Regions from separate parts of the Homo sapiens genome. Here region 1 is linked to region 2. The links are contacts of gene promoters, found by promoter capture Hi-C in blood cells and fetal thymus (Javierre and others, 2016). All regions are on one chromosome and are shown on one strand. The core of a region is centred on a gene start or on the middle of the fragment in contact, and the rest is flanking DNA. Distances in the headings are between cores, read along the strand shown.

Evidence for each region. The method cuts DNA at HindIII sites, captures the fragments that hold promoters and counts their contacts. A CHiCAGO score of 5 or more calls a contact.
Region 1: the fragment with the promoter of EHBP1-AS1 here is called in contact with a fragment that was not itself captured in region 2 in 2 of 17 cell types (naive B cells and total B cells); the score reaches 13.5 in naive B cells.

The regions. Positions count from the first base shown.
Region 1 is chr2:63,045,269-63,051,672 of GRCh38, reverse strand. EHBP1-AS1 (EHBP1 antisense RNA 1) reads left to right here and starts at 3,152. Exons shown (of 4, transcript NR_033389.1): 1 at 3,152-3,284; 2 at 5,023-5,191; 3 at 5,532-5,636; 4 at 6,230-6,404. EHBP1 (EH domain binding protein 1) reads right to left here. Exons shown (of 23, transcript NM_001142616.3): 23 at 5,186-6,263. The coding sequence ends at 6,173. It overlaps OTX1 (orthodenticle homeobox 1), which reads right to left and starts at 843. Exons shown (of 5, transcript NM_014562.4): 1 at 776-843; 2 at 356-424. RefSeq lists a silencer at 818-1,477 and enhancers at 1,594-2,341, 2,342-3,091, 1,705-3,113, 3,092-3,840, 5,950-6,404. The HindIII fragment of the contact is 1,878 bases long and covers 2,735-4,612 here.
Region 2 is chr2:66,578,129-66,584,241 of GRCh38, reverse strand. The region is part of intron 1 of LINC01798 (long intergenic non-protein coding RNA 1798); the gene reads right to left. Among named protein-coding and RNA genes, the nearest start is that of LINC01798, 7.2 kb to the right of the region's middle. RefSeq lists an enhancer at 4,399-6,008. The HindIII fragment of the contact is 1,485 bases long and covers 2,913-4,397 here.

The sequences.
Region 1 (6,404 bases), core at 1,903-4,402, 3.5 Mb after region 2:
CTGAGGGAGTCCAGCTTGTAGGAAGGGGACCGGAAGGGAAGCAGCCAGGGCTCTAGGGCCGAAGGAAAATGGGACTCAAAGCTGCGACGGCTTTGCGAAGCTGCAGCGTGAGTTTTCAAAGACTTTCTCCAAACTTAGCACTTCAGCTTGGTTACTTCGGAGGAGGCGGGGGAGGGGGCTGCGGGCCGCGACAGCGCCCCGGGGTCCTCGGCTCACCAAGAGGGGAGCCAGGCCGCTCCCACAGCCCCGACCACCTGCTGGGGACCGGGGAAGCCGGGATCCATTTGAGGAGGGGGAGATAAGGGTAACCAACGCGCTCCCGGAGTCCGGGGTGGCCCCGCGGCTTTCTCCTTACCTGCCCTCAGCTGCCGGGGCCGTTCACCATCTACCTGGATCTCTCACAGAGACCCGCCGGGCAGCCAACCTGCAAAACAGAGCAGCACTGGAATTACCCTGGCGGCTGGTCTAGGACCCCCAGGTTTCTTTCTTTTCCCAACTTCCTTCTTCCCACCTCTATCTTTTTTTTCAATGGCTTTGTGCGTGTCCTTCTGGGTTTCACTTTATTGCACAGACACTTTGTTTGCTAAGCCCCACACGTTCTCAGGACATTGCCTCGCCTGGGATCGCGCCGAGGGGCCGCAAGGGGGGGAATTCGAGGGGCAGAGTTGGGAGGTGGCTCGGCGTTGCCGCGGCACTCCCGGTGCAACGTGGAGGCAGTGGGGACTGGGAAGTCCTGCAGAGTCACTTTGCAAACTAAATAAATCAAGCGATTTACCTTGTCGGAGTGGCTTGTCTTGCTCGGTTGTTTAGGTGATTGGAAATGTAGCCTGATGAAGATTGATCACCTTTCTACTGCCCTCCCCGGGTATGTGAACGCGAGGCGAGTGCGTAACGGGGCTAGGCCGCCAATCGGGGGCCCCGCGCGGGCTGAGTGACAGGGAGCCGGGCAATGGCTGCGCGAGCCGGGGGTTACCTCCGCGCGCCCCCGCCCTCCCCCGCCCCCCACACCCCGCCCTCCCCGCCCTCCCGCCCCGCCCCGGTCGCGCGCTAACTCCGGGACTCGGCTGGCAAAAGCGGCGCAGAGCTAGGCGAGGAAGGCGAGCGGAGAGCCCGAGTCCTGGCCGCGGAGGGGGCCGTGGGTCTCCAGGCCTGCCCTGGGCGCCCCCGCCCTTCTCGCGCTCTCGGCGCTCCGGAGGGAGTGGCAGGGAGGAGGCGAGGTGCTGGAGAACCGGTTCCTTCGCTCTCCCGCGCGCTACAGGGCTCAGCCGCTCGGGTGTGGGCGCCAGGACCCGGGGGCGGCGGGCTGGAGGAGCCCGGGCCTCGGCCCCTCTCCCGGCGCCGCGGGCCCCAGCGTTTTCTTCCCCGGCGCCGCCACCTGAGACCGACGCCGCGGGCTGCTCGTGCCGGCGCAGGCTACTTTGCAGAGCGCGGGAGCAGCTCCGGGCGTGCAGATCTCTCCTCGGCCCCTCCGGACTCTCGCGCCTGGGAAGAGCACCCACTGGGAGGGCGCCGCCACTTACCTGCTTGCTCGTCGGCATCTCCCGGGGTTCCAGGTCCCCACCAAGGGTGTTTGCAAGTCTTAAGCGCTTCTACTGAAACGTTGGAGCCCAGCGTCCTCTTCCCCTCACACGTACACCCTACTTCTTAATTGAAACATTTTGATAGGAAAGTTTCTTTTTCGCTCTTTCTCTCTCTTTCTTAGACTGCCTCTAACAGGGACTTTTTGATGGAAAATGTGGCCACAGACCCCTGCCCTCAACTTTTTTCCACATGCTGCGTAAGGATCCTCCTTGAGGCGATTTCCCCGGATTGTTCGTACGGGCGAAGCCCATTTCCCACCCGAAAAAACTTCCCAAACACGTCTACCTGGGTGGACTTTTAAAAGTGCAAAAAAGAGTTTTCGTTCCAACTCTAAGCTAGGCGAATCTTTTAAATGGCACCTCCTCCTGAAAATTAGGCACTTTATTCCCTTTCGAGGAATTTCTACCCCTTGTTTCTAATCTCCCCCACTCCCCCACCCCGACAGGCGGGGTAAAAAGTTTGCACAGGATTAAGTGTGAGGGCAAGTCAAGGAGCCTCCAGGCGCATCGCAGTGGGGAGCACTCGCGCTGCCCGGGCTGCGGGGTCGGGCGCCGAGAGCGGACCGGGCGCTGGGTGAGGAGGAGGAGAACGAAGGGGGAGCCCGCTGAGTGAAAAGGGGCCGCGGCCGCCGCTCATCAAAGTGCTTCCCCCTCCCCCAAGCGACACTTTCCTTTGGAGTCCGAATAAAATACGGTAACAGAATATGATGGAGGGCACACTGTTTCCTTAACTGCTTCTCAAAGGACCCGGGAGATCTTCTTAGGACCTTTAATAAGGCTTTGGTCGGTTCTTTTGTTGATCTCTCAAAATCAACTCCTTCTAATTGAAGTTGGAGCTGAAAGCGAGCTAATGTTCAAAGAAAGTGGCCGCCAGACCAACGAAATTACATTTTTTTTTTGACGATGAGGGAACATCTAATCAAAGAGGCAGGGGAGGAGGGGTGGGAGTGGGGGCGTACGAAGGAGAAAAGGAGGTTTTACAAGATCCTTCTCTGGTTCACAAAAGTCAGCGACACGGGCGCTTCTCTACAGAACAAAGACACCGCGGCCCATTCACAAAAGGGAGAGAAAGAGAGAAAGCTGAATAAAAGAACGAGAGAAATGGGGAAAAAATGAGAGAGAGAAGGAGGGAGAGAGTGAGTGAGAAAGAAGCTTTAAGAGGAAAAGAAACAGTGCAGAGCGCAGCGCTAACCCAGGCGGGGACACACCTTAGGCTCGCGCAGGCCCCTACCAGGAGTAGCCCGCGAGGCCCGCGGTCAGCCGCCCGCGGCTCGGAGCCACTGTGATCGTGCTGAGGTTTAAAGAAAGCAACGAAATATACCCCTTCCTTAGGTTCCGAGGAAAGGCGCCGGCTGGAGCGCACTAGTTTTGGGGGAAAGAATATGCGGACGTCCCGGGGTGCGCTTCGCCGGCGTCCGCGTCCATAGCCCGGCGCTGCCCTAGTCCCGGCCAGTCCGCTGTGTGCCGGGGTTGGCCCTCCAGTGCCGGGGCGCGTGACCTTGCCCCATTCCTCCACCTTAACTCATTCCTCCCTCCACCAGGCCCTGTTTCGCCTGCAGCCTCAGCACCTGACCTGGGTCCGGCGCAGCGAGGTGGGACGGCAGTGCGCTCTGGAATGTGCCAGCGCGGTCCCCGGGGTACGCCTCGCGGGAGGCCGGCGCTCTCGGTTCCAGATGCTGCCACCATTCTCGGGGAAGTTGGGAGGTATCAAGTAGCACGGATTTTTTTTTTCCTAATTAGAGTATTTATCTAATCCCAAATTGCAGGCGAATTTTCTTAACGCTCAGCCCATAAAACCCCAGGATTAAGAAAAGAAAGAGGAGAGGGGGAGAGGGAGGAGAGTGGAGAGGGAGAGAGACTGGGATGAAAGTTTCTTGAAAGCAGCGCAGAGGATTGAGGCGGCCGTCGCTAGGCAAATGTCCAGGTGGGAGATGCTGGGCCAGAAGCCATGACCGTTCCAGCATCGGCCGCGGTGCGGGAAGGGGAAGTGGGGACACCACTGGAGGAGGTGAAGCCGTCCAGCTCAAGGCCCTCGAGCCGGGAAGGGGCGAGGGAGCTGGGTGTGGAGACAAGGATCCAGCATCCAGGTGACCTCCAGGCCCGGCCAGGCTCTGGAGGACACTTGGGACAAGGGGAGGGCTTTGGATCTGAGGCCGAGGGATCTGACCAGGGGCGGAAGTTCTGCTCCGGCCCGCAGACTGTGCCCAAGCAAGCCCGCTGCCAACGCCCCTGCTCCTCTGCGACCCTCGGACCGATAGTCTCTTTTCCCGCAGCGCGGGCTTTCGAGTTCCGGGTCCTCCGGCGTGCTGGGCTCGTGCCCGTTCTCGGGAGCCAGCGTCTGGGCACCACGCAGCGATGTCCGGATGCAGCGCCCTTGCCGCGGGCCTTACCCCGCCAGGCGCCGGAGTCCACGCTCCACCGCCGCTGAGGGGCGTTCGGGCGCCACCGAGCAGCCCAAATTGAAACCCCGAGAGGCTCGGGACTAAAGCTGAAGGGGCAGGTAGAGGGGCCGCCCGGCGGTCCCAGACCATCCTAGCAAATCTGGGGCGAGGGAAGGGTTGTCAGTTGGCCGATTGGGAGCGGCTTCGGGAGCGAAGGAGCTGCTTTTCGGCGAGGCCCCTCGGGAGTGAAGGTTCCTCGAATCAAGCGTAAACTGGGTGGGTGCTGTTGGCCGCCCAGGCCCCAGGCTGCTTGGGGCGGGCGATTTCTGTCTGCTGAGTTTTCCCGGGGTTAGAACGGGATTCTGAGAGCGTTCCCCAGAGAGCAGCAGCTCTCTCTCTGCTCTCGTGCTCGAATAAAGAGGGCAAATACCGACTTCATTTACTTAAAATAACTTTTCAATAACTTAAAAGAAATGCTCATCATGAAGGAATTCTACCGTAGCAAGTTTTTATCATTTTGAAAGACTGGCAACTGGAGGTGGCTGCATACTTGGAACGAAATTTGTTTGTGTGCACATACATACGATCTACGCTGAAGTATAAATGCTAGTGGACTTTTTTCTCTAAGTTTCTGGACTTGTTGAACAAGCTTTCTTTGTTTGGACACCCCTGTGGGGGAATGAAGGAAACTAGCATAGAATCGCTTTTTTTTTTTTTCTGTAGCCTAGAACTTCTTGTTAAAAGTTCTCTTTCCCTCATTTCATACACACATACCTGCATACATTCTCCCCGCCCCCCAACAATAACCCTCTTCCTTTCACTTCAGTACCTACAGACTTGCCGGTTATCAGAAGACACGACTCTCCCTAATACGACTTCAAAACTCTAACAATTCAAAGTAATGACGTGGAAAATTCAAGATATAAATATTGGTTTTTCATTGGTGTGGAATCACAAATTTCCTCAAATCTTTAGCAGAGATGACCCTTTACAAAAGACATGATAGTTTATACTGCTTAAGAATATGACTAATTACTTTTCAATTCGCATTCGTGTGTCAGTAGGGCCCCCTCTGGGATGGTGTAAACTTATTCAGCTTCAAATGCAGCCCAGTATCCTGCCCTAAGTTCCAGAGGACCATTTTCCACATGAAAAGTCTTACGGATAGACAAACTTCCATTCAAGCCAATGTCAAGTTTTCATTGCAAGAAAGTAGCAGCCGTGTTTAAGGTAAGAAAGTTTCTGCTTTTATTGAAAATTTATATATGACTCAGTATTGTAATAAATAAACATAACCATTTTCACAAAAAATGACAGTGCTATGCTAAAGAAGAAAATATTAAATGGGGGATTTACTTGTAGTGGCAAGACAGACTTTTTATCAATACAGAATAAATATTAACAGCATTCGTGAGCCAATGTTGAGACCCAACAAAATGTAGGAATCAAGCATGATGTAAGAAATAATTATCCAGAGAAAAAGATGGTGTATTCTCGGATGATAAGACTGTCTTTGTAAACTGGTGCATATCAATTAGTCCCATCCTCACAGCTCACCTTCAAACCACAGGGCTTGTTTCTGGCTATGTTAAAGGACCATCCTCTGAGGAAAGCAGAGGAGAGGAACTCCATTATCCTTACAGTGAAACGCAACCACTGCAGAAAAACTCCACTGGTAAATAGAACACAGTTTAATAAGTAGATTGGATATGATCTAACTATAAAATTTAGGTAACAGAGTAAGTGTTACATGTGGCAGGACCGGAAAAAAATCATGACATTTTTCTTATCCCCTTGTACCCCTCCCACTGTCATTATGCTATTACCAACAACAACAAGAATAATGTTTCAAATTTTCCTCTCATCAAAAAATGAGAGAAAATAACGAGGGAAGTGTTTTTGTTCTTTTTCGAACAGTTTCTTGAACACCTCCAATACCAATCACTCACAAGGTGTCTGTGCAAATCTATTTCACAGGATTTCAAGGAAATTGTTAACTCACAAAAAAATCCTTAAATGAAGCTATTTTGGAGTTCTGTATATTATTTGGAAAGGAGGGAGGAAAAGGGTGGTGGTGGTAAAGTAGAGGTAAAGTAGTACAATCCAGCCAAACAAAATGTTAAAAGTTTTAAATCAACAATGAGTCTGACTTTTTCTGGTTTGGGAAGCAAGACTCTAAAATGTTGGGAGAGATTCTTTCTGATCTGATGGCTACTGAAGAACACATTTCTCCTCTTTCTTGGCCATCTTGCCTTTGTTTTGCTCCAGAGTTCGCTCCAAATGCTCATCTTCTTCTTCGGCCCTGGATGTCAGACAAACAGGACAAACAGGAAACAAAATTATTTTTCTTCGTGGAGGGCAGAGCAGCACTCCCCCGTCGCCCAGTATTTGGATCCCCAGCGGGAATGGGGAGCACCAGGCCAGTGGGAGGCTGCCCCGGCCC
Region 2 (6,113 bases), core at 2,406-4,905:
CAATTAGTTCATCATCCTTTGAAGTGAATAAGGCAACTTGCCAGGCTGCGAGCAAAAACGCTTGTCACTTTTTCATGTAATGAGCTTAGTTTCTTTTTGTTATTTTAGATTATTTTGAAAAGGAAACTCGGAGGAATACACTTTAATGTTCAAAAGATTAAAAGTTGAATCACTCACTTCATAAATAGCCTCTGCAACAACACTTAATAAAGTACCGAAAGAAATATTGAAGGCTCTGAAGGTTATAATTTATGTTCTTATGGAAATCATTGGAACAGATAATCTGGTTCAAAGATAAAGTTGTGCTTGAATGACACCAATATTGTAAAAGATTGACGAGGATTGTCCTCTCTTTCAGCCTCATAATACCATCCTTCACACAAACCACCAAATTACAGGAGCAGCCCCTTCTCTTCCCGCTCGCAGCTGCTCTTCACTTTCTCGCCTTACCTTCCTCCCCCATCTGCTACTTCTTGCTGTCTCTAGGTCTCCATCTCCCCACACGCACCTCCTTCTCCCTCGCCCCACGCGTCTGGCTCTCCCATCTCCCCTGAACCCCTCTTTTTCATCGCAGTTCTTCACTGTCAGGTGTTTCCCCCCGACTCTGGCCAAACAGATCAAAGGAAGTTCTGCATGTAAGTGGTTATTGTGAGACTGAAACACTGTATGTCTGAATATTATCCAAAAAATGAGGAAGAAAATAAGAAGATCGGAAGAGGATGCTGACTGACTTCGTCTTGGCAGGTTCCGGATCTGCCTGAGTGGTCGCAGAGTGCAGGTGGGGAGAGCAGTTCTGGGAGGCCGCCCCCTTAAAGGCCAGCCGGTGACTATGATTGCAGCCAGGGCGTCAGGTGGAACCTACACCTGAGGCCGCCAGCTCTCTTCCGACCTTGGCGGTCAACGAGCAAGGTCATCTTTAACTCCATCACCTGGCCAGGGGGGTGTTTACCTGGCTCCCAGAGAGAGAAACCGAGGGCCAAGAGAGGCGGGCATGTCCCAAGGTGCCAGGAGGGCTCCCCTTGGGGTCCATCCGGCTGGGGAGGACCCATGCCAGATCCGGGACAGTAAACTTTTGGACCATTGTGCATATTTCAAAATGATATTAACATACTTCCTATACTGCTCCCCTACTGGAAGTCATAATTACAACTCACCCTTCTCTTTGTCCACCAGAATCGCTTTGAGCAGTCCCAGCAAGTCAACCTACTTTGGGCATGCGTTTTGCATTTTGCAGTGCCCCCATCCCTCCCCAGACCTATATGTCAAGGAATAGGGAGCTGAGACATGACACGTTAATGTTTTTAACAGGGGATGCTCTCTGCTCCCACAGAAAAGGAGGGAGACCCTGAGGAGAGGGCGGCCGAGAGGGAGAGGGAAGGAATCACGGCGCCACTCCTGCGGAAATTCATATTCCGTGTATGTTCCTCCGTCACCTGAAATAAATCCTGCCGGCCTACCCACACAGACCCAGCAGCACTTATTTATTTGCATGTCATGCTTATAATATGGTAGAAAGCAAGACGGATCTTCGAGGAGGGGAGGGGATGAGGCTCACCCTTCAGGCTCACTCTCTTAAATAAAAAAGAATTGACCGGCTGGGCGCATAAGAATTTATCTTGAGTTTGTGGTCATTATCTCTATTATATAGCCCCGGCAATAAATAAATCGGGTAGTTACTACCCAACAATAAAACTGTAGTGTATGGGACACCTTACTATTACTTTCTTAATAATCTGCCGTTTCTTTCACTTTAAATCTTCCCAGTCATGTCTTCACACTCGTCTACAAGGATCTATCTTCACCCCTTGAGGTACCAGACCGCTCGGATCATTTTTATATGTTGTGAACACAATAAGTTTTCCTGCCTAGACTTTCTGTTTTTCCTCCTATTTCTAGGCTGCCTAATCTGCTTCAAGACAAAGGGTCGGCCCAGATCAAATGTGTTTTTTCCTCCTCTCTATTTCAATCACGTTGGGCGTCCAAGTTAATGAAGATCGCCCTACATGCGGCAGCCAGCTACGGGGCCGCTAGGAAAAAGGGAGCAACGCAGGGTCCAGGAGACCCAGTCCCGGGAAGATGATCTGTGCTTCCGCGGTGGGCACGCCCTTGGGCGCGCGCGGGGTCCAAAGGCCGAGTTGGAGAAGCCCTGCCTAGGGTAGTTCTACCTCTCAAGACCCTCAACCCTATTCTTGATTGTGTGTGTGCCCATGGAGGGATTTCTGGGGGTCTTGACCCCTCCTACTTCTCGCAGCTCGCCCCCTGACCCGGGCACAGCGCGCTACCCGCGGACGCAAGCGCGAGCAGCGTGGACCCGCCAGAGAAGTCGGTCCTCGCTCAAGTGCGGGCTCCCCTGCGTCCGCGGTCATTAAAACCTCACGAGGGGGGCTCGGCCTAGGGAGCAGACGCATGGGTAGGAGTTGGGGAGGGAGGCGTCCTGAAAGGTTCCCAGACCCGCGGGCTGGGGAGAGAGCCTCTGCGCTCACACCTGGGGCTCGCCTCCTGCGCGCAACTGTTAGTTACGCGGCTCCCACCCCAGTTCCTACTGGCAGCCAGGCGGGAGGCGCAATCTGTTCGGAGCCAGAGCCTTGCAGAGCCCCAGGGCCCCCAGCCCGCGGGGAGAAGGAGCCTAGCCGACGTCCGGCCGGCGCCTTCCAAAAGCAGCTCCACATTTGCTTTCACGCCAGCGCGGAAAGTGACCCGTCCCCGCAAAGCGGACAGCAAATGACCGCCTCATCCGCGGAGCCACCCCGGCAGGGCGTCTGGGGAGGTGCGCGGGGAGACGAGAAAAGGGACAGTGGGGCGGCGGGGAAAGAAAACAAACAGACCTGCATCGCTCCCCCTTTTGTCTTTACACTGCTTATCTCAAGAAATCAACTCAACAACACTCAACAACAACAAGCTGCCACCAAGCTTGTTTTTGTTTGTGTGACTTAGATCACAGATAGAACTAGGGACCAAACCTCCAAGTGTGTGTGTGTGTGTGTGTGTGTGAGAGAGAGAGAGAGAGAGAGAGAGAGGAGAGCCGCAGCGAGGCTACTGATGGTGAAGGGACGGTGAACTTCTCACCTTTCTTCAACTCAGAACAACACGTCCTTTAAAAAAATTCCGCACCGCCGAGTGTGTGAGTGTATGTGTGTGTGTTTCGCTGTTAATTGCATTTTGCTGGGATGATCTTTTACGACTCGAAAACAAGCAGCTGGGAAAATATTCACGTTTGGGACAGAAAACATTTTTTATTTATATCTTTGACATTTAAAAGAGCAGAATTAATTTGTCCTGTCTACATTAGCATTGAGAGAAAGTTTCAGAAATCTACCCGGGGGGAAAGGGAGGGGGGGAAAAGAAAAAGAGAAAAAAGAAAGCGAAGAAAGGAAAAGAAAAGCTAGGCTTGGTTTTTCTTATTTCAGATCTGTAATCAATCATTGAAATAGGAGGCAGCAAAACTGTAAAGATTCGATAGATTAAAATGCAAATGAAAGGTAGAAAAAGAAACATTAACATGGCGATCAAAGATTTAATAACCATAAATCAAGTTTTTTTTCTGTTGCAGCTGCAGTTTGTGTGTTTATGTTTTAATCATGTTCGTTCCATAAATAAATAATTTTGAAACGAGACTAATTTTTCATTATTTTAACAGTGGGCTACAACACTAAATATTAAAAATAGAAAGAGTATATGATGCAGATCCCCAACCAAATAAGAGAAAGACTTGTGTTGATTGGTTAAAATCAAGGGGTTTCAATTTTATGTTTTGAAAATCAGAGTATTATGCTAAAAAATTCTATCTTAACTGACAAAGCCCAAAGTTTTATTTTCTCTTTAATATTTTATGTTAACGACAAGATACCATTTATATTAAATATATGCATGGCTACGTATCCATTCCAGTCTGAGCATTTTCAAAGAACGGAAGTGTCAGAATATTAAATAATACAAACATATATTATTTCAAAGTGCCTTGACAGAATTTCTGGAAAATAATACTCTTTAGGATAATCTGCCTTCCAGAGAAAAAAGTGATGGTTCAACACAGTTAAAACTTTTCTAGCTTTATTATTAAAGTTATTTTTCCAAGGGGGAATATTTTAGCCGTTTGTTTTATTATTCAATTTAAGGTTTTATGTCAATGTGTCAAATTATCAGAGCACACTCTAAGTACTCATTTTCTCAACTATAATGAAAACTTTTCATTTAGATCTTTTTATGTAAAACATTAATTTATATCGTTAATTTAGAAGTATCTAGAACTTAAAAAATAAAACACCTGAACTTAGTTTCTCTCTCTCTCTCTCTTTCTCTCTGTCAACATCTTATTAACATAGAGAGGACATACATTTTCAGAAAATTTGAAACTTTTTTTTTCTGCTAATACAGACTTGCAATGTTTAAAATAAGCTTTTTGCTTAATTCTGCTTTTGAAGGAATGATTCCCCCTAGTATACTAAAATGATGGGTTAGAATTGTTTCAATTTCTCCTCTTTCCACAAATGATCACCAAATATGGAATACATATTTCCTTTCTGAAACCTTTAAGTTAAATGTGAGCTAAGTTTATGTCCACTCGCCGCCCCCCGCCCCCCCCCCCGCAGCCGAACAATCACGTTTTCACTGTGACAGTCCAATAATGCATTTAGTTTAAAATTACAATTACACTTGGACCTTTTCTCCTTTGTATTTTTTCATTTACTTCAGTGCAACAAGATGACTTGATTTCCATAGGATTACACGAACTCTATTCAGTGTTACTGGGATATTTCTGCTCAACTAAATGCTTGCCTTAATAGACAAATGAACTTCTTTTTATTTGCTGGAGTTTGTAGATGGTTTTAGATAACAGTGTGCAACTGATTTAGTTATTGTTGTTGTGAGAATCGAACAGCCACAAAAGTCATTTCTCTAAACTGAAGAGATATGACTCTGTAAAAAGGAGAAGCAAGGGCAGAATCATGGGGAATTATTTCAGTTTATAGCTATTATTAATTAAACTGGATGTGGTTTTATTCTGATCTTTTAGTACCGACCTTGTTAAAAGCTCCCAGCTACCTGCCTTTTTCCCCTCATCCCCAATTTTTTTTCTATTTATTAGGACTCATGTGGATTGGGATTGCCTTTTCTGTATTATATTACCAAGCAGTTACAGTGTAAAATCTCATGCACCTTCAGACGATCGCACCCCTCCCAGGGGGAAAAAAAAAAAAGAAATGCTTTTTTTTCATTCAGTTTTAGCATCTTGTTTCGTTGAAATGCAAGACAGGTACTTGATTTAGCATTTAAGCAAAAGGTTACACAAACCGCGTTTTAGAAAGTGTTGGGATGTCCGACAGGGTCAGCCCTAGATCAGATCATTTTTTGAATGCAGACCTAAAGATAATGAGTACTTGTTGTATTAAAGGGGACAAACAGTACTTTGGCTTCCTCTGACCCCAGAATGCACGGCTCGGTTTCATTGATCATCCTCCTTTATGAGATAATGCAATTACAAACATCAATAAGGGGCTGCAAGGGGAATCATTATGCGGTGACAGTGATAAATGACGGTGCAGAAATAGCATGCTTTTCCCCCCTAACAATCCAGGAGCCCAGGGGCTCCGGGGGCTGAACACAGTCGCCAAGGAAACAGATGACATCCCAAACGGCACCAAAAGAAAAAAAATGAACAGTCTTTCTTTGCCTTTCACTCTTTTCCGTCTTCCAAAGAGTTAGTTTTGGCTCAAGCAGCAGCTGCTACACAAGGCATTTCGTTATTTCAAACATTAAAGACTGGAACGGGCAGTGGGAGTCTCCTCCCCTTTCATCCCCACCCCCACTAGATAACACACAAAGCTCGCTGTTCACAGTTTAGGACTACCTGAAAATGCACGTCTCAAAAATCAGATTGGGATGGGGTGGAGGGGCGTCGGGAACGTGGATTTGCACAGCCCTTGCGTTGTGTTTCCCCTGCTTTTGTCCAGTGGAAACTGAGTCTCCAGAACAAGCTGGCGCCTCGCGGGTCGGCCAGTAAGGGAACGGGTGCGCGTGGCTCGCCTCCATCTCCCCGCAGTGCCAGACGCTGCTCTGTGCCAAGGCGGGGGCTGAGGAGCAGGCGACTGCTGGGGGTGTTTGCTGCTGTGCTG